7 separate regions of the Homo sapiens genome follow, and regions 1, 2, 3, 5, 6 and 7 are each linked to region 4. The links are contacts of gene promoters, found by promoter capture Hi-C in blood cells and fetal thymus (Javierre and others, 2016). All regions are on one chromosome and are shown on one strand. Each heading gives the region's core, a stretch centred on a gene start or on the middle of the fragment in contact. The rest is flanking DNA. Distances are from core to core; before and after follow the strand shown. Region 1 overlaps RTKN (rhotekin). Region 2 holds the start of DGUOK-AS1 (DGUOK antisense RNA 1). Region 3 overlaps DCTN1 (dynactin subunit 1). Region 4 holds the start of MTHFD2 (methylenetetrahydrofolate dehydrogenase (NADP+ dependent) 2, methenyltetrahydrofolate cyclohydrolase). Region 5 overlaps TET3 (tet methylcytosine dioxygenase 3). Region 6 has its middle 9.0 kb from the start of C2orf81. Region 7 overlaps DCTN1-AS1 (DCTN1 antisense RNA 1).

Region 1 (2,700 bases), core at 107-2,606, 240 kb after region 4:
GCTGAGGTGGGAGGATCCCTTGAGCCTAGGAGATCAAGGCCAGCCTGGGCAACATAGTGAGACCCCACCTCTAAAAAAATATATAACAGCCGGGCACGGTGGCTCACGCCTGTAATCCCAGCACTTTGGGAGGCAGAGGCAGGCGGATCACAAGGCCAGGAGATCGAGACCATCCCGGCTAACACGGTGAAACCCCGTCTCTACTAAAAATACAAAAAATTAGCAGGGCGTGGTGGCGGGCGCCTGTAGTCCCAGCTACTTGGGAGGCTGAGGCAGGAGAATGGCATGAACCCGGGAGGCGGAGCTTGCAGTGAGCCGAGACTGCACCACTGCACCCCAGCCTGGACGACAGAGCAAGACTCTGGCTCAAAAAAAAAAAAAACATATATATATATATATAAAACAAATAAGAAAAATAGAGATGCCCTCATGCATTTGATGGTTGGAAGTATAAATTCCTTCAGCCTCTTTTGAGTGCAATTTGGAAAAAAATCTATGAAAACTACAAATTCATATATCCTTTAATTCAGCTATCCAATACCTAGCAGTTTATCTTACACATATAATTTCACATATATCTAGGTAAAGCCATACATACAAAAATATTCAGTGCGGCATTTTTTTTTTTTTTTGAGACGGAGTCTCGCTCTGTTGCCCAAGCTGGAGTGCAGTGGTACGATCTCAGTTCACTGCAAGCTCCACCTCCTGGGGTTCATGCCATTCTCCTGCCTCAGCCTCCCAAGTAGCTGGGACTACAGGCGCCCGCCACCACATCCGGCTAATTGTTTTTTTGTATTTTTAGTAGAGACGGGGTTTCACAGTGTTAACCGGGATGGTCTCGATCTCCTGACCTTGTGATCCGCCCACCTCGGCCTCCCAAAGTGCTGGGATTACAGGCGTGAGCCACCGCGCCCGGCCTCATTGTGGCATTGTTTTAAACACCAAAATTAAAACCCCTTCAGTAGGACATTGGTTAAATAAGTAACAGTACATCTGTACCCTGTAGTATTGCAGACATTAAGGAAAGAGATATGCACATGTATGCAGATATGAAACAATCTCCAAAATAAATGATGTGAGAAAAGAAGGGTAGTATTGCACATACTACCATTTGTGCATGATATATATATATGTATGCATGCATATATATACATAGATATAGATATGCATGTTTATGCATAAAATATTAGTGATTGTAGGCCTGGGAGCCAGGGATGGAAAACATTTATGATACTTTTTTTTTTTTGAGACCGAGTCTCACTCTGTCACCCAAGCTGGAGTACAGTGGCGCGATCTCAGCTCACTGCAACTTCCACCTTCCAGGTTCAAGTGATTCTTGTGCCTCAGCCTCCTGAGTAGCTGAGATTACAGGCATGTGCCACCACGCCCGAGTAAGTTTTGTATTCTTTTTTTTTTTTTTTTTTGAGACCGAGTCTTACTCTGTTGCCCAGGCTGGAGTGAAGTGGCATGATCTCGGCTCACTGCAAACTCCGCCTCCCAGGTTCAAGCAATTCTTCTGCCTAGCCTCCGGAGTAGCTGGGATTACAGGTGTGAGCCACCACACCCAGCTAATTTTTGTATTTTTAGTAGAGACGGGGTTGCACCATGTTGGCCAGGCTGGTCTCAAACTCCCGACCTCAGGTGATCCACCCGCCTTGGCCTCCCAAAGTGCTGGGATTGCAGGTGTGAGACACCATGCCTGGCCTAACTTTTGTATTCTTAGTAGAGACAGGGTTTCGCCATGTTGGCCAGACTAGTCTCGAACTCCTGGCCTCAAGTGATCCTCCCACCTCGGCCTCCCAAAGTGCGGGATTACAGGCTTGAGCCACTGCGCCCAGCCTAATGATACTTTATATATACCCTTTGTACTACTGGAAATTGTATTTCCTTTAAAAAATATTAGATCTTTGGAGTTTAAAAAAAAATGATCAGGCCCTACCTAAGATTTGCAGAATAAGAATCTCTAGGAGTGGGGCATATGTACTTTTGGAAAACTCCCCAAGTGATTCTGAGGTACACCCAGGTTGAGAACCACCAACTCATGGGAATGGACAGAAGGAAAGGCAAATGAGAGTTATCCCTCAGACTCAAGTGATGCCAGGGACATCTAGTTGGCAAGGGATCAGTGGACAAGGAGCATACCACCTACAGTGTTCACTGACGCTGCACAGAAACCTATACACCCCAAATTAAGAGAATCACCACCTACCGGCCCTCTGAGCTTGGGAGATGAGGTCAGAGGCAAGGAATGGGGATGGGAAGGTAGGTGGTCCAGGAATGAGGGACTGTGGATAAGGGCCAGCTGAGAGGCCCTGGAAGAGACACCAGGATTCTCAGGAACATTCATTTAGAAAGGAGCCCTGGAGGTCCTGCTTCTTAAAAAGCAATGGGCAATTTGCTCAACCTCCCTAAGCCTCAGTTTCCCCATCTGTAAATCAGGAATGGAAATAGTCCTAGGGCTGTGAGAATTCTGTGAGGCAGGAACTTAAAGCACTTAGCACAGTGCCCAGCATGTGGTATACATTAATGGCAGGGATGCTTATTTTAATGACGCTATACTTTGGTGGTAGCAGCATTTACTCAGTCAACACTGGAGCATCCCTGTACTGTCCAAGGTTGTACATTTAAAATCCAGCTGGGAGGTGAGAGATGATGACTTTAATGGCTGCTCCATAAGTGCCATGTCATGGCACAACCATG
Region 2 (2,747 bases), core at 186-2,685, 220 kb before region 4:
AGCACAATCTAACTGATCCTGACTGATACACCCTGTCAACCAAGGCTCAGGGGCACCAAGGCCTTTATCCCTGTTGGGTATTCCTTCCATTATGATGGGTACCCTTGCATTCTCCTTGCAAGTAATGAAGCCTATTTGATTCAAAAAATTCAAAATGCAGTCACAAAACTAGTTATAAAACATGAGGACATTTGCGGGGCTATTGAAAAACGTAGTAGCCGGGCGCGGTGGCTCACTCATGTAATCCCAGCAGTTTGGGAGGTCGAGGTGGGTGGATCATGAGGTCAGGAGTTCAAGACCAGTCTCTACTAAAACTACAAAAATTAGCTGGGCGCGGTGGCAGGTGCCTGTAATCCCAGCTACTCGAGAGTCTGAGGCAGGAGAATCATTTGAACCTGGGCAGCAGAGGTTACAGTGAGCCCAGATCGCGCCACTGCACTTCAGCCTGGGTGACAAGAGTGAGACTCCATCTCAAAGAAAAAAAAAAAACCAAAACCCAAAACCAAAACAAAACAAAAAACCCAAAAACGCATAGCATAGATATCCTACACGTGTCACACTCACCAATGCAGGTCCACAAGCAACCCACTAATGAACCTCCCTTTCCCTGAGAGCAAAATGCCAGCTTCTGCCTGGTATCAGCTCTAGCATTCGTGGGCTAATTTCAGAGGTCCTGGATTGTAGGTCCTGGATTCTGACATGTAGTAGTGAATGACCTTGGACAAATTACCTCACTGAGCGCCAGTTCTCTTATCTGTAAAATGGTGATGATAATAAAAACTATGTCATAGATAAGGAAAGTTAACATTTGCACATTTGTTGTATTTGCCACTCTGTGCAGACAGAAGGATAATGTGTGTGGAAGTGCTTTGAAAAGGGAAAGATCTATGCAAATATTAGTTGATAATATTTTTAGCCAATACATGACCAAAGAAGTAATACATCCAAAATCAAATAAACCTCCCAATACCTTCAGTCTTTAAAACCAAGCCCAGGTATGGATATCGGGATGTATTTACATTTCTGCAAAAGGTCCCCATACGCAAATCTCATTCTTAAATAAGGACAAATTACTCATTAGCTGAAGAGGAGAGAGGTCAAGTACCTGAGGAGGTTAGTCACATCAATCACCTGAGAGTTCAGCAGCATCCAACAGTGTTAGTTCCACGTGTTAACTTCCTGAAGAACCACAGGCTTGCACATCCAATTATGCTTCCTGTCCCTTTCCTCCCCCGTGCGGAATCAACTTCAGCTCATCAATGGGGTAGGAAAGCCTCCTTATTTCGCACCCTCCATGCTCCAGGCATCCAGGGAAATGCCCCTGCCACCCCTATCTCCCTTGAGTTCTTAGGGCTTCCTCCTCTAGCAAGGAGATTTCCCTTTCTAGTCCCGGGGGCAGCGGCACAGCCCGGCTCTGACCTCGCGGGAGCAGTCGCCTAAAAGAGGCTCCGCCCTTGGCCGCTTGGGGTGGCGCCCGCCAAACCCGCTCCTAAAAGGAGCCTCTCTCCCTCTGTCTGCTCTAAGCGCCTTGGGGGCCTAATCGCAGTCTCCACCTGGGTGCTGAACTTCCTTCTCCCCCGCTTGCTGTAGTCCAGTGCTGCTCTAACTTGACTTCACCTGACGGACTAATTAAAACAGATTGCTGGGCCCGCCCCCAGGGTTTCTGATTCAGTGGGGTTAGGATGGGGCCGAGAGCTTGCATTTCTAGCCAGTTCCCAGGAGATGGTGATGCTGCTGGTGCCGGGGCTCTCTTGGCGGAACCACTGCGTCTAGGCTAATGCAGCCCCAGGAAGGGCTCGCCCTATCCCTACGCCCACCCCCGCTGCTCTCCTGCCCTGAGCGCAATGTGAATGGGAATAGCCGCAGCAGCCCAGGAGGCTGGAGAACCAGAAGGCAGGACCTGAGGAGTTTAGGCTGTTTTATCTTGGGCGCCCCTGACCAGTTTGTGCAAGTCGTAAAGAAAGCAGGAAAGAAGCCTATGGGTCTTCAGTGTTACTGGGGTCTGTCATTCATTAGGGTCTACTCACCTCGTCTCTTCATTCAACACAGTGGTTGGTTGCTAGGTCTAGGGTTATGAGGTGAAAGACAGCGTGCTACCCTTCCAGGAGTTTGTAGTAACTGGGAAAGAAACATGCAAACCATTCCAGTGCCCAGCGCCGATGAGATAACTGTTCCTAGGCAGGGAGAGTCAAACTTCTGTGGAGGGAGAGTGGGTGGGGCTCTGGAATCATCTGAGCAGCTGGAGGTTTCATGGAACTGGCACTTATGACTTGCAGGATGAGTGGGAATTTGGCAGGTACAAGGGGTAGCTGAGAAGGGGTGGGGTGGGAAGGGTTTTTCCCCAGGCAGAAGGAATGAGCAACAGGACTGCCGAAGTGTAAGGTTCCAGAGGCCGGGAAGATATGACAGGCAGCTCTCTAGCCTGGCTGGGTTCCCTCCAACCTCTCTGGCGGCGCCTTCTCAGCTCCTGTCCCTCATGGGCTGGTATTCCCTGGGGCTCTGTCCTGGCAGCCTTTCCCTCTCACACTCCATATCCACCCTGGATGAGCTCCTCCACAACTGAGGCCTCGCTGTCTGCTCACTGATGGGGCCCAAATCTCAAACCCAGGCCTCACCCCCTCAGTTGCACACTCACTTTCACACGAATGTCTCCATCCCCAGGCATCCTTCCTTCTGCATTTTGTCACAGTGAATGGCACCAGCATTCACCCAGTTACCTAAACGAGAGGGCTTTATGAAATGACCCT
Region 3 (2,700 bases), core at 140-2,639, 170 kb after region 4:
CAACCGTCTCCTGGGCTGCCTCCACACGCTTCTGGGCCTCACGAACCCGCGCGCCTGCCATGTCCAGCTGCTCCCGCAGCTCCAGTTCTGTCTCACGTGCATTCTCCTGCAGCTCATCGTTCATCTCATTCATCGCTTCCTAGGACACCACACCATAGTTTGGGCTAAAGAAAGGCAGGGTCGGCCAGCGGCGGTGGTTCACACCTGTAATCCCAGCACTTTGGGAGGTCAAAGCAGGCGGATCATGAGGTCGAGATCGAGATCATGCTGGCCAACATGGTGAAACCCCATCTCTACTAAAAATACAAAAATTAGCTGGGTATGGTGGCGCATGCCTGTAGTACCAGCTACTCGGGAGGCTGAGGCAGGAGAATCGCTTGAACCTGGGAGGCGGAGGTTGCAGTGAGCCGAGATTATTGCGCCACTGCGCTCCAGCCTGGCAACAGAGCGAGATTCCATCTCAGAAAAAAAAAAAAAAAAAAAAGGCAGGGTCAGGGTAGCAAGCCCAGGCTGGGTCCCTCACCGCACACCCTGCTCAAAGGCCAAGGGTCACATGTCAATCTTTTTCTCAGCAGGTCCAAGTCAGATGTCAGGGGTCTGCTCTTCTCTTACCAAGTCTCCCACAGTCTCCCTCAACTCGCGCACTTTCTCTTCCAGATTCAGGTTCCGATCTGTCAGCATCTCCACCATCTCCTCAGCACCCAGAGCAGCATCCACCTGTGTTACGGGGAGGATAGGGAGAAGGGCTGCTGGAAGGTACCTAGAAAGAGGAGGCATCAACTGATAGGAGAGTCAGGTGGGGGATTCTGGGTGAGGGGCTGGGCTCCCCAGACCTGCTCCTTGAGCTCATCAATGGTGCTCTCTGCCTGGCTTAGCTCCTCCTGCAGACGCTCCCGCTGTTGCCTCACAACTTCCAGCTCTTGGTTCTTCTTTTCCATGAGCTTCTGGAGCTTCACATGCTCCTGCTTCTCTGAGGAAGAAAGATCCCGCATCCTGCAGGGATGTGAGGAAGGCAGAAGGAGGAAAGCACGTGTCAGAGTCTCTGGCGATGGGTGCTCTAACACATTTGGAGACACAAGAGTAAGCATCAGAGGCAAGCACTGAAGACCCTACCTCACCAGGGCATCCTTCAGGCGGGCATTCTGCTCCTCAAGCTGCTTGAGCTGATAACTGGATGCAGCGCCATCTGAGCCTGGAGAAGATCATTAACACTTTCAGGCATGGTTCTCACCTGACCGTTTGGCCCCCAGCAGCTGTGGGCCCCTTACCCTTCTCTTCAATCTCAGCCTTGAGGATCTCTAAGTCAGTAGTGAGCTCGTCCACCCGCTCCTTCAGTGCCTCCACCTCCTGCTGCAGGGACTCAGCCCGCTCTTCAGCCATCTCCTTGTCCAAAGTGGCCATCTCAATGGCATCAGCAGTATCAGCCATCTCCTCCATATAGCGTTCCTTTGCCTCCAGCGCCTCCTTGGCTTCCTGAGGAAGAAGTGGAGGTGGGAGGGGGTACCAGCACAGAGATGCCCCAGGCCTTTCTCACAGTATGTTCCAGGCTCCAGCTCCAGTCTAGTTTCCAGCATGCTTCCTTAGGTCTCAGGCTGCCCCAGCCACCCCCTTCATCCAGAGTCAAACCTTTCTCGCCTCCTTGAGGCGCCGCTGCAGGTCGGCCTGCTGCTCCTGCATTTTGCTCTTCCATTCCTGCACCTGCTCCAGCTGGATTTTGTGTTTCTCCAGCTCTTTTAGCTTTGCTTTGTCTTCTGCCCGTTTCAGTCTCAGGGTCTCTAGTTTCTCCTCCAGGTCCCGCACCTGAGCCCTTAGTCCCTCCTCCTCCTGCAAAGGAGAGGCCTCACGGTCTGTGCACAGCCCACTCCTCCTCTCCACCAACACTGAGCTGGCGCAAAGAACACAAGAAAGTGTGCAAACATCACCCAGCCCCAGGGTGGCCAACAGTCAGTGGCATAAGAACATCTGAGAGGAAACCGTAGCACAGTATATATGGGGAAAGTATGGCATAAGGGCAAGAAAGGAAAGGATGGCTCAGTCAGTAGCAAGATATCCATAGGCTATGTCCTCACCCTTTCTGATCCAAGTTCTAGGTCTTTGCCAACCCCAGGAAATTTTCAAGACACAGCGGGTAGCCACAAGCCTCTGGGTGTCTTGATTCTCCTTTACCCCTACCCCAGGCCTTACCTTGGATGGGGAAGGAAGCGGGGGGACTGCTCCAGGAGAGGTGAGGACCGGCGTGGGGATGATGGGTGCTGCCAGCGGAGTCTGAGCCGGGGTGCTGGGCTCACTGCTGCTCAGCTCACCTGCTGACGCTGAGCCAGAGGGGCCCAGGGAGCTACTGGCCCCAGCCACCCCAGTACTGGCTGGGCGCGTGGGCTATTCAGAAAGGGTAGAGGCAGACCAGAAAGAAAGCAGAGGATAGGGGTAGTAAGAGGAACAGAAACAGAATATGAGAATATGGCAAGGGAAGGAGACAGAAAAGGGAAAAAGCAGAAAGAGAGTATCAAAGCACAGTGAGAAAAGAAGAATGAAGGGGACAAGGAAAATGATACAGAGAGGCAGAGAGAGATAGTGACAAAGGACAGGGGGAGGATGGAGGCAGAGGAGAGAGGGAGGAAAAGATAAGAGAAAGACATAAGATTATAAGGCTCCTCGCTTGGCACTGACTCCACATTCCTCCTAGCTCTGGCACTACCCTTA
Region 4 (2,973 bases), core at 463-2,962:
TCATGGCCTTGGAGCTGTCAAGAGTACAAGCAATTTATCTTGTAGAATATCTCTCACTTTGGGCTTGTCTGATATTTCCTTGTGAATAGATTAAGATCTACTAGTGTGTTCCAAAGCTTTACAACTGTTTTTTTTCCTGGACAGTTTTAACATTCTAGGTCTGTGATCTTTCTTCTCAATGTGAAATGAGGAATCTGTAACCGTTTTTAGGAGACTCATTGGTTTAGGAAAATCACCTTATTAAATTTACAGACTTGTTAAGAGCTACGAAGTGATGTGTCTCCTCAATGGATCCTATCAGAAGGCATATATGTGTGTTCCCTTACTGGGTGGTGCTAACTTTGATCACGTGGTTGAAGCAGTAACTGTCATGTTTCTTCACTGTAAATTTACCATTTTCCTTTCCTTCCTGGAGGCTAGAAGTAAAGGTCAAGGTGTTGACAGGATTGGTTTCCCCTGTTCTTTGTTTGTTTGTTTTGTTTTTTGAGACAGAGTCTTTTTGTTGCCCAGGCTGAAGTGCAGTGGCACAGTCTCGGCTCCCTGCAACCTCTGCCTCCCAGATTCAAGCGATTCTCATGCCTCAGTCTCCCCAGTAGCTGGGATTACAGCGTCCGCCACGATGCTCAGATAATTTTTTGTGTTTTTAGTAGAGACGGGGGTTTCAACACATTGGCCAGGCTGGTCTCGAACTCCTGGCCTCAGGTGATCCGTCCGCCTTGGCCTCCCAAAGAGCTGGGGATTACAGAAGTGAGCCACCGCGCCCTGCCCTCCTTAAGTTTCCTTGCGGGAGAGATACTTTGAGACTATGCAAAAAGTTTGCGGGAAAAAATACAGGAAGCCCAGTTGAATCTGAATTCCAGATAAGCCATAAATAAAGTATAAATATGACCTCCCAAAGTGTTTATCTAAAATTCTGATTTGATTGGGCATCTTGTGTTTTTATTTGCTAGATCTGGCAACCCTATATGTAAATATCTTGCTCCTCATCCAACTTTCACCCAGTTGTTTTGACATCTATTGCTGCTTCTGAATCAGGGTTGCACATGCAACCCTGACGTCTGTCTCTGAATATCTTTTATGATTTTACTTTTTTTGTTGTTGTTTTGAGATATGGTCTCACTCTCGTCGCCCAGGCTGGAGTGCAGTGGCGCGCCTTCAGCTCACTGCAGCCTCAACCTCCTGAACTCAGGTGATCCTTCCACCTCAGCCTCCCCAGTAGCTGGTACTGTAGTCACGCGCCACCATGTACTGATTTTGGAAAATGGTGATTTTCTAACTCCATCATTCCTTTTACTTCTGTTCGTTGGCATTCTATCAGCTTGTCTTTTCATCCACCCTTTACAGTGCTTGGCACACAGTAGGCGCTCATATAATTGTTCAACGAATGAATGAATGAACTTTTCTCTTGTGTTGTCCGGCCTTCGGTGACACTAGCGGCGTCAGGCAGGAGTTTGACTTCCTCAGCCTATCATGGCACGTTGCCGAGGCTTCAGCGCCTTACAGGACCTCGCTCCAGGCTCTTCTGGCTCCAATCAAAAGCAGGGCTCTTTCGGACTTCGCTTACGTTTAATAAAGAAAACCGGTTGGCCCCTTCGGCTCCACCTGGCTCAACAGACAGCCAGTGGCATGCGGCAGGGACCAATGGGTGGCGGAGGGAGGCGGGGCCTGCCACGAGGCCGCAGTATAACCGCGTGGCCCGCGCGCGCGCTTCCCTCCCGGCGCAGTCACCGGCGCGGTCTATGGCTGCGACTTCTCTAATGTCTGCTTTGGCTGCCCGGCTGCTGCAGCCCGCGCACAGCTGCTCCCTTCGCCTTCGCCCTTTCCACCTCGCGGCAGTTCGGTAAGAGGGTCACAGAGCTCGGTCAGCGCGGAAAGCTGAGGGGAACGGAGGGCGAGGGGCACGCCGGGCCCCCGAGGGACACCGAGGGAAGTCCTTCCCGAACATCTCCGCCCCGGCGGTGGTGGCCGCTGAGGGGTGTGGCGGGGCGACGTGGCACCGAGCGCCGCCGCAGCTCTCGACTGGGGCGCTTCCTCGGCGCGGAGGGCTGGTACCCGAAGCCCGCCTTTCGGAGGGAGCCGCTCTCCTGCGACTCGGGGCGTCGCCGGGGCCCGTGGCCAGTCGGCGGGCGGGACGGGGGTGGCGTGCGGAACGCGAAGGCATCAGTTTACGCGGAGCCTTCCGACAGCGCCGGCCGCCTCTGGCTGGGATGCTGAGAGTCGTCTGGGGGAGAACAGGCGAGGGTTCCAAAAGAGCAGCCCTCGGCGAGTTGTCCTTGCGGGGACCCTAGCGGCGGAGGGCGCTGCTGCAGCTGATGAAATCGCGGAGCCGACTTGCTCGGGGTCCCCGCGCCGCCCTCCTCCCTCCGCCGGTGGGAGTGGCCCGCGCTGCCTCCGCTCTGCCAGGAACATGAACGGACTCTGGGCACCCTAGCTTTGGCTGCAGCCCACCAGAGCCTGTCAGTGCCGGGCTGCGTACATAGAGGTGGCAAACATCCGGGAGGCTCCCAGGGCCTTAGGGAAAGGGGGAATGGAGAGTGACAAGTACCCATATTTCAGCGGTACTTGCAGAATTTCAGTTTTACAAGATGAAGAGTTCTGAAGATGGATGGTGGTGATGGTTGCACAACATATGAACGTATTTAATACCACTGAACTGCACTTAAAAATGGTTAAGATGGGCCGGGCGTGGTGACACGCGCCGAGGCTGAGGCACGAGAATCGCTTGAGCCCAGGAGTTCGAGGCTGCAGTGAGCCGTGATTGCACCACTGCCCTCCAGTCTGGGCGACAGAGCGAGACCCTGTCTCAAAAAAAAAAAAAAAAAAAAAAGTTGATAAGGTTTATGTTATGTGAATTTTACCACAATAACAAAATTGGGAAAAATATACAGGGGAGGAGGAAAGGAAAAGCTCTGTTTGCATTTTTGGGTTTCCTTGGGAAGGTGATTTGGTCGGTCATTAGAGCGCTGGCATTGT
Region 5 (2,735 bases), core at 236-2,735, 160 kb before region 4:
TCTTCTGTTGGCTTGTTTACTTTTACATTTCCAGTGAAATTAAGAGTACTTAGTGGTTAAAAATGGCTGTGCTCTTCCACATTGCCTTGTGATCTTGAGGCAATTACTTGCCCTCTCTGTGTTTAGTGTCCTTATCTCTGATCTCCACCTTGGAGGAGCCTGTGGTGATTAAATGAGATAAGTGAATGTGCGACAATTTGCATGATACTCTGCCTGTCATAAGAGGGTTCCATCAGAGTCACGTAGAGACTTTTCCTGGTTCCTTCTTTTCCTTTCTTCCTCGAACCCACATTAGTTACTGTTAGGTCAGAGGACATGAACAAAGTCCTGTGCTTCTGCCAGATATGATGACCTCAGGGAATTAGGCCCATTTCAGCTTTTTTCTAAGTATCACCCCAGCCACTGACAGATTTGCTGTATCTGCCCATTTTGTAGTAGGAAAAAAAATTAGATTTTAAAATGTTTTACTGGTATGCATGTAGTAACCACAAGAACAACTGCCTCCCCCTCCCCCCATATAAGAATACCCTCTGCCAACGTATAATGCTCTCAAGAAGTTAGACATAATCCTGGAGTTGCTGTCTGCAGAGGTGGCCAGTTTGGGTATGGAGGGTGCAGACATGGGACTGGGCTAGCCAGTGTGCCCATGGGCACACACTCACTTCTGCAAGAACAGGCAGATGTGCACCTCCTCTGCAAGGGTTCCCCTAAAACTCTCTTTCTGCACTCGCTTATTAGTTTTATCAATAAATCTTCCGAAGGGAGAATCCTCTTAAGAAATGAATAATTGATCAACCCTAGACAGAACATGCCATAAATACAACCCATTTGCTATTAGAGAGAGTGGGGCCATCCATTTGGTGGCAAGGAAGAAGGAATTAGCTTTGTAAGGAGGTGGATTCTGAACTCTAGGACTGAGATAAAGGATGAGGCTGGAAAGAGCAGCCCCTTGAACAGCTGCTGTGGATCAGAGTAGCTGAGCTGGTGGTATGTGTGGTTGGGAAAGTACTGGGTGGAGTTTACTGGCTTAGCAGGGTGGGGTGTTGCCACCACTATCTTGGAGTCCCATGAGAATTCGCTTCAGGAGATTCCTTTGCAGAGAATGGGCTACTGGGCTCTGAAGGTTGACTACAGGCTAGTTCATTCTGGCCAAAAACACCTTCTTGGACATGGTTCTTCTAATATGGTGTGTAACTGCTGACAGTCAGCAAAACAGCCCTCCAGACTCTGTTCCTCTTGTAACTTCCCCTTTCTTAAAGGCCTTAAGAAGGTATAGCCAATCAGGACTTTGCTCTTTCAAGATAACATTCTTGTCTTCTCTCTTCCCTATTTTCCTTTAATAGAGAATTGCTGATCTGGTTTTGATGTGTTGAGAGTAAGGAAGGATTTGGGAAACCTGGTGTCATATCTGTATCCTTCACTGTGTTGTTGACTGAACGAGGTGTTTGGGGAGTGGCGTTCCACACTTTTCCAGCCTTGCCTGGCATCTGGGGGGCTCTGGAGTCCCCTGGGTGGGGAGAGCAGGGTGCTGCTGTTGAATGCCTGCAGATGTCTGGAGGACCAGCTCTGGGGATTTGGGAGTCTAAGAAGACAGTGCACTGTAGAGGAGGAGGCAGGGGACCTTGTGAGCTAGCCAGGCGGGGTGCAGGGTCACCTTCAGCACAGGGTCCCCAGCTCTCTGAAGGTGGGAAATGTGACTGGGGTTGGCGATGCTGTATGCACATATGAACTCTTCATGGAGTGTAGTGAAGAGTTATGTCTCTTCTTGGATCTGAGAAGGGCATTTTCTCTGCCTGAGTAATGTTTCCTGCCTCTCAGTCTCCTAGTAACAAATTCCTGCTGCCCCTAGGTGATGGGAACACACCTCCAACTTGGGGAAGACCTAGCCTGGGATGGGCATACCCCCTTTCAGTGATATTGTGAAGCAGGGAAGAAACCTGATGGGGTTGGGTGTGAGGACCCAGCGAGGGCAGGGAAAAGGGGTTTGCACCTGGAAGTTGGCAGTAAGATGTGCAGCACTAGCACCTTGGGCTTCTCTGGAGGCCCCTGTAGCCTTTGCAGACCTCTACCATGTGTGCATTGTAATGGGTGCCATAATAGCAGAGAGATCACCAACTCTGCCTAGAGCTTCCATGGGTCATCTCAAAGTATAGGGGTGATGAGGCTTGCACCAGCCAGGTCCCTAGGGAGGAAGCAGTGACAGAGCTTTTTGAATGCATTCTAGAGACTCCGGTAGGTTTTGAAGGTGTGGCAGATGCCTGGTTCCCTAGGAGCAAATGGTGTAGTTGACCATACACTCTTACGAAAAGATCCCTAACAGAACGTGGCTGTGCACGGTAACTGTAGGCTCTGGGGCAGCCTGTGGTGGAAAGGACTGGTCAAGGAGGACTTTCTCAGGGAGGGATTGATTCTGTTCCTTGTCTCACTGCTAAATTTAATCACTTAACCTCCATAACCACGTTTCATCCCCATCTGTCTGCTAGTGCCTTAGTTCAGGTCCTTATTGTTACTAATCTGGACAGTTGCATAGTCTCCTAACTGGTCTTTGGGTCACCAGCCTCGAACCCTGCAGTCTGTCTTCTGCAAGATGCCTGAATGCCCCTCCTGAGATGTAAATCTGCTCTCTGTAGCATTCAGGCTGTGGTCCACACACCTGCCTCCCCTGCCTTTGCGATCAAGATACACTCAACAGCTTATGCATCTCCAAGCCTGCCAGGGCTTATGATTCTGTGCCT
Region 6 (3,079 bases), core at 580-3,079, 210 kb after region 4:
TGATATCTGTGCTGCGTCTTGGCAGGTGAACTAAAGTTAGCCAGGCCAACATGATGAGAAAGGATATTCCAGATAGAAGGAACCGTATGTGCAAAAACACAGCCAGAGGGTGAAAAAAAACAGACCGTGGTCCAAGAGCTGCAGATTGTCTGGCTGGAGACTAGGAGGTGGGTTAAGGAAGGGCAAAAGGCAAGGCTCTTAGTCAGCAGAGGGTTTTTTTTTTTTTTTTGAGACAGAGTTTCACTCTTGTTGCCCAGGCTGGAGTGCAATGGCGCGGTCTTGGCTCACTGAAACCTCCACCTCTCGGGTTCAAGCAATTCTCCTGCCTCAGCCTCCCGAGTAGCTAGGATTACAGGCATGCACCACCACGCCCAGCTAATTTTGTATTTTTAGTAGAGACGGGGTTTCTCCATGTTGATCAGGCCGGTCTCAAACTCCCAACCTCAGGTGATTTGCCCACCTCAGCCTCTCAAAGTGCTGGGATTACAGGCATGAGCTACTGCACCCAGCCTAGCACACAGCCTTCTAAGTGTAGAGAAGGGGCTTAGAGTTCATCCTACAAAGGAGAGGTTACCTTCAAAGGATTTTAAGCAAGAAAGTGTCATGATGAAAGGTGATTACTCGATGTGGCAGTGGGGAGAATAGATTAGAGAAGATGAGACAGGAAAGAAGTTTAAGAAACTGTCACTAAGCAAGATGCAGATAGTGTCGTGACATGTTACAATTTGTGGAAAGGGACAAAAACAATCATACTTGCAGGTGCATAGAGTTTTGCCTTTGTTCACTTTCCAATTGGGATTAATTTAGTTGACTGCTAAAGGATACGTGAGACTCCGGCAACAGTAGTTGCCTCTCAGGAGGGGAACAGGTGGCTTATGTACCAGAAGAGAAAAATAGTTTAAAAAAAAAAACCCTCTGTATCCTTTTGTACACTTTCAATTTTGTACTTTGGATATGTATTACCTGACCAAAAGAAAAATTGCTTTTCTTTTAAGGAGGCTATCACATTGCAAGGGGATGAGTAATTAAAAAATAATAATAATAATAAAGGGGCTATTATACAATCTAGGAGAAAATGTCAGAGAGAATGTTCCTGCCACCCACTCCCCGAAACTTTCCCTGGAGGAGCCAAACTTTCTCAATCAGAAAGGGCCTCTTCAAAGGACTTAGGCCCAAGGCAGTAATGTATCAACTGTATCATCTGTATGGCCTACACCTCTGGCCGACCCTGAGAACAGAAACTGAGTCTTCTTGCTTTCTCTGTTTCTGGTGCCTAGTGTCCCCCTCAAGAAGCCTTCATTGCAAAAACTACTCTACTGGTCTGGCTAGAACTAGGGGATGGGAGAAGGAGGTCTGGGATCTCATATCCCCTTGCTGATTATATTTTGGGCTGAATGATTCTTCTATCAGCCTTCTAATACTGACTTGTGCCAGCTGGGCTTCCCTGATGTGTGACACAAAAAGTGTGTTGGGTCACCACTCAGCAAACAGCTGGGTGCCAAGAGGCAAGAGGTGGTCCTGGGAGACAGTTACTAGAATGCCAGGGGTATAGGGAAGAGGGCAGCACAGAAGGTGCCCATCCTTCCTTACCTTGGAGTAGATTTGTGAGCAGAAAGGGCCCAACATAGTTAGTGACAAAGGTGAGATCCAGGCCCCCTGGGGTAAGTGTCTTCGGAATCCTGGGAGGAAATGAAAACACTGGCATTGAGTGATAAAGGGACCACCTTGAGGGAGACAAGGTCTGGGAGGGACATATTACCTTCAGCAGAAATGCCACAGGGGCACATACATGTGAAGATGGGGGCAATGAAGTTTAAGGCTATAACTCAATGTCAGCTTTTTAGGGGAGGGTATGGATTAGTGTTTTGGCAAGATTGCATAGACTAGGCTTTGAGGATACCTGTTTTAGAGTTCCTGAGCTAGAAAGGAGACTGCAGAAACATGTTTGGAGAAGCAAGCCAGGCACATACCACTGACTCCAGCATTGTTTACCAGCAGATGTATCTCAGGATTCTCCTGTAGAAGCCTCCGGGCAAAGCTCCGAATAGAGGTCATGGAGCTAAGGTCCACCTCGCCAAGCAGGAGGCGGTTGCTGTTTGAGGCTGCTTGGATCTCAGCCAGGGCTTGCTGTCCACATTCCCTGCTCTGACAAGTAAGGATCACTTGGGCCCCACACCGAGCTAGGTCCTGGGATACAACCTTCCCGATGCCTGTGGGAGGACAACTTCGGCTGGGTGGTGACTACAGTGAACAAGGGACACTCTAGGGGAGGGACAAGGGTGTTGATAGTGGATGCTCCTCCCTGCCTTCCCTGTGAGAGTTGTTGGAGGCTGAGGCCCATAGTGAGGATTCAGGGTGGGAGGAGCACTCACCACTGTTGGCCCCAGTCACTATGGCTATTTTCCCAGTCAGATCTGTGGAGCAGCACTGGAGGTCCCAGGGATGAGACTTCTGCCAGAGCTGCACATGTAGTTGAAGAAGACCAGAATAAGGAAGACAGAGCCAGCGCCCCAGACCAGGATGCTGAGTGCAGCCCACAGCAACATAGCAGAAACTTCCTGGGCCTGCTGGGGAAATGCTGTAGGAGGAAGTGGGTGCAGGATAAATCTGGGCAGAGTGGAGACTAGCAATGAGGCAGGTGTGGAGCCTAAGATAAAATTTAAGGAGGCACTGACTCTTGAGTTTGTTCAATATACTGTTTGAGTTTGAGAGTTCCTCCTTAACTTCAAAAGTGAAATTTGGATTTGCAGTCTAAGGTGAAGTGACCAAGCTCCAGGGACCAGGGAAGCAAGAAATCAAGTTCTTCATATCTCGAATCACTCTGTGCTTATGCGGGGCCTTCTCCTTCCTCCCCTACTGAAAGGAGACTCGAAGTTCTCTCTACAGAGCCAGACCCGCTGGCAGCCCTTATGTCTACTCCTTTGGGGGACAGGGGTTTCTCTAGAATGCCTCTGCAATGGGGCAGCTTTGGCCCTAATGCAGGGTCTCCTAAGGGTGGCGAGAGGGTTATTTCCTGAACCCTGGTTCTATCTTCTTCTAGGCCTGCAGGATAACTGCTCCCCTTGGGGTTCAGTGAGAG
Region 7 (2,813 bases), core at 266-2,765, 200 kb after region 4:
GCAGGCATGGTGGCGCACACCTGTAATCCCAGCTACTTGGGAGGCTAAGGCAGGCAAATCGCTTGAGCCCGGGAGGCGGAGGTTGCACAGTGAGCAGAGATCATGCCATTGCACTCCAACCTGGGTGACAGAGTGAGACTGTCAAAAAACAAAAAAAAACCTGTGTGTTGAGTTTTTTATATAAAGCTGCCAGGCCTCAGGTGGGATGGGGGTGGTGATTCAGGAAAGACCAAAATGTTTCTCAGCATCATGAAAGGGATCCTACTGAATCATAAGGACAGGACGTGCTAATAGGAGAAATATTGATTTTTTTTTACATTTGATTAGGCTGAGTGGTCTTCAAGGAAAATTAATATTGTCTTTGTCCTGTGTTTTTCTTCATAGGTGCTGTTGTAAGAGATCCAGGCTGCCTTTGGCTTCCTCCAATGGGGAACCTGAACAAGGACCCCCAAACTCCTGTTCACATAACTAGAGCCCTTCCCCCCAACATGTGATGCTGAACAGAGAAGAACATCTGTGCTTACCTGGGTGAAATCCTAGGCATTATAGAATGTGGGGAAGAATCCATGGGAGAATCCTCCCCCTGAGGAAAGGGATGCTGTTTTCCAGGAGAAGGTGGGTTTTCAGACTGAAAAGCTTGGAGAGGGGAATCAATAGAGAGTAAATCAAAGATGACAAAGCCATGGGGGAGGACATGTGTGGGAGAGAGAAGCATCTAGATTAGCTATACCAGCACTGCCCAATAGACATAAATGTAAATTTTAAAATTGTTTTTAGTTGGGAAATAGGTTAACAAATTTTAAAGAAAATTTCTGGAGAAAACTTAATTTTTTAAAGACAGGATCTTGCTCTGCCACCCAAGCTAGAGTGCAGTGGCGCTATCATGGCTCACTGCAGCCTCAACCTCCCTGGCTCAAGTGATCCTCCTACATCAGCCTCCAGAATAGCTGAGAGACCAAAGGCCACCGTTTCTGGCTATTTTTAAAAATTTTTTGGAAAGACAGAGTCTCACTATGTTGTCCAGACTGATCTTGAACTCTTGGGCTCAGATGATCCTCCTGCCTTGGCTTTCCAAAGTGCTGAGATTACATGTGCGAGCCAAGATAAAATTTTATATAAGCCAGCCACACATATAATTTTAAATTTTTTAGTAGCGACAGTTTGTAAAAGTTAGAAAAAAAAAAGGTGAAATTAATTTCTTTTTCTTTGAGACAGGGTCTTGTTCTGTTGCCCAGGCTGGGATACAATAGCATGATCTCAGCTCACTGCAACCTCCACCTCCCAGGCTCAAACGATCCTCCCACCTCAGCTTCCTAAGTAGCTGGGACTGCAGGCATATGCCACCATGCCTGGCTAATTTTTATATTTTTTGTAGAAATGGGTTTTTGCCATGTTGCCCAGCCTGGTGAAATTAATTTTAACAACATACTTTATTTAAACCAGAATATTCAAAATATTGTCATTTCAACATGTAATCAATACAAAAATGAGGCATTTTACATTCTCTTTTTTTGCACTGTCTTTAGAATGCGATCTGTATTTTGCACATTTATAGTACATCTCTATTCAGATGCTAAGTTTTCATGGGACATCCTTGATCTGGTTTAGACTACATAAAATTTACAATTGAAAAAGTAGATTTATTTATTTATTTACTCATTCATTCATTCATTCATTCATGTCAGAGATAAGGTCCTTCTATGTTGGACAGGCTGGCCTTGCATTCCTGGCCTCAAATGATCCTCTTGCCTCGGCCTCTCAAAGCTGAGATTACAGGCCTGAGCCACCAGGCTCAGCCTGGAAAAGTAGATTCAGGTATGCAACTTATTTCAAACATTTTAACATATTTTCCAATAACTGAACTGAATACTTAAATGTATACATTTTTAAACATAAAATTAATTAAAAATAAATAAAAATTAAAATTCCATTTCTCAGTTACATTAGCCACATTTCAAGTGCTTAATGGCCACATGTGGCCAAGGGCTACCATATTGGTCAGTACAGAGATAGCGCTTCACTCCTTCTTCTCCCTGCTTTGTTACACTTTTATGAGAGGGTCTGGCCCTTCAGGAAAGGACCACATGTGTGTTCATTGCCTGGTTTGTTATAACATACAGGTAGAGTATGAGGAGACAAGGTGGCTTAGGGAGAGCCTGACCTACTGTACCCCTTTTCCTTCTGAGGTGGGGTAGGGAACAGCATGAGGGTGGTCCCCTGGGGGTTCCTTGAAAACTGTGTGATAAGAAGAATCCACAATGTAGGATAACCCAGAACGACCATAAAAAGTACAATGGCGACCAAGGACCATGCAATTTTAAAAAGTAAAAGAATTTTCAAAAGTAAAAAGAAGTGAATCACTGTAGAAATCATAAAGAAAATAATCTACAGATGAAAGCTTTTTGTTAAAACAAATACAGATCCTTGAAAAGAATGTAAGATCTCATTAGATTCTCTAAAATCAGGAATACGAAGATGCCGAATATCTCTGAGTCTGATCAACACTGTATTTGAACTAGTGCATCAAGGCAAGAAAAACGTATATAAAAGACATAAAGATTAGAAAGAAGGAAATTAAACTGTCATTTTTCACAGATGATATGATGACTTACATGGAAAAGGCCAAAATAGGCCGGGTGCAGTGGCTCACGCCTGTAATCCCAGCACTTTGGGAGGCCAAGGTGGGTGGATCACTTGAGGTCAGCAGTTCGAGACCAGTCTGGCCAACATGGTGAAACCCCATCACGACTAAAAATACAAAAATTAGCTGGGCATGCTAGCACGTACCTGTAATCCCAGTTACTTGGGAGGCT

Evidence for each region. Contacts are between HindIII fragments. The CHiCAGO score rates a contact against its expected background, and 5 or more counts as called.
Region 1: a fragment that was not itself captured here is called in contact with the fragment with the promoter of MTHFD2 in region 4 in 1 of 17 cell types (naive CD8 T cells); the score reaches 5.3 in naive CD8 T cells.
Region 2: a contact is called between the fragment with the promoter of DGUOK-AS1 here and the fragment with the promoter of MTHFD2 in region 4, in 14 of 17 cell types (fetal thymus, activated CD4 T cells, naive CD8 T cells and 11 more). The highest score is 14.4, in fetal thymus.
Region 3: a contact is called between a fragment that was not itself captured here and the fragment with the promoter of MTHFD2 in region 4, in 2 of 17 cell types (naive CD4 T cells and total CD4 T cells). The highest score is 6.3, in naive CD4 T cells.
Region 5: a fragment that was not itself captured here is called in contact with the fragment with the promoter of MTHFD2 in region 4 in 1 of 17 cell types (activated CD4 T cells); the score reaches 7.8 in activated CD4 T cells.
Region 6: a fragment that was not itself captured here is called in contact with the fragment with the promoter of MTHFD2 in region 4 in 7 of 17 cell types (activated CD4 T cells, naive CD4 T cells, total CD4 T cells and 4 more); the score reaches 7.9 in activated CD4 T cells.
Region 7: a contact is called between a fragment that was not itself captured here and the fragment with the promoter of MTHFD2 in region 4, in 10 of 17 cell types (total CD4 T cells, naive CD8 T cells, total CD8 T cells and 7 more). The highest score is 9.5, in total CD4 T cells.

Annotation. Positions count from the first base shown.
Region 1 is chr2:74,432,875-74,435,574 of GRCh38, forward strand. The region is part of intron 1 of RTKN (rhotekin); the gene reads right to left. Among named protein-coding and RNA genes, the nearest start is that of RTKN, 7.7 kb to the right of the region's middle. The HindIII fragment of the contact is 2,783 bases long and covers 1-2,700 here.
Region 2 is chr2:73,980,004-73,982,750 of GRCh38, forward strand. DGUOK-AS1 (DGUOK antisense RNA 1) reads right to left here and starts at 1,436. Exons shown (of 2, transcript NR_104030.1): 1 at 1,132-1,436. The HindIII fragment of the contact is 8,489 bases long and covers 1-2,747 here.
Region 3 is chr2:74,369,353-74,372,052 of GRCh38, forward strand. It overlaps DCTN1 (dynactin subunit 1), which reads right to left. Exons shown (of 32, transcript NM_004082.5): 8 at 2,185-2,376; 9 at 1,627-1,824; 10 at 1,269-1,473; 11 at 1,114-1,192; 12 at 834-993; 13 at 613-717; 14 at 1-139. Among named protein-coding and RNA genes, the nearest start is that of DCTN1, 9.6 kb to the right of the region's middle. The HindIII fragment of the contact is 6,181 bases long and covers 1-2,700 here.
Region 4 is chr2:74,196,903-74,199,875 of GRCh38, forward strand. MTHFD2 (methylenetetrahydrofolate dehydrogenase (NADP+ dependent) 2, methenyltetrahydrofolate cyclohydrolase) reads left to right here and starts at 1,713. Exons shown (of 8, transcript NM_006636.4): 1 at 1,713-1,840. The coding sequence starts at 1,740. RefSeq lists an enhancer at 1,375-1,933 and silencers at 1,642-1,781, 1,972-2,251, 2,382-2,471. The HindIII fragment of the contact is 3,357 bases long and covers 115-2,973 here.
Region 5 is chr2:74,036,504-74,039,238 of GRCh38, forward strand. The region is part of intron 3 of TET3 (tet methylcytosine dioxygenase 3); the gene reads left to right. Among named protein-coding and RNA genes, the nearest start is that of TET3, 53 kb to the left of the region's middle. The HindIII fragment of the contact is 6,428 bases long and covers 1-2,735 here.
Region 6 is chr2:74,411,058-74,414,136 of GRCh38, forward strand. No RefSeq gene overlaps it. Among named protein-coding and RNA genes, the nearest start is that of C2orf81, 9.0 kb to the right of the region's middle. The HindIII fragment of the contact is 6,860 bases long and covers 1-3,079 here.
Region 7 is chr2:74,394,670-74,397,482 of GRCh38, forward strand. It overlaps DCTN1-AS1 (DCTN1 antisense RNA 1), which reads left to right. Exons shown (of 3, transcript NR_158174.1): 3 at 385-2,813. Among named protein-coding and RNA genes, the nearest start is that of DCTN1-AS1, 11 kb to the left of the region's middle. The HindIII fragment of the contact is 1,762 bases long and covers 635-2,396 here.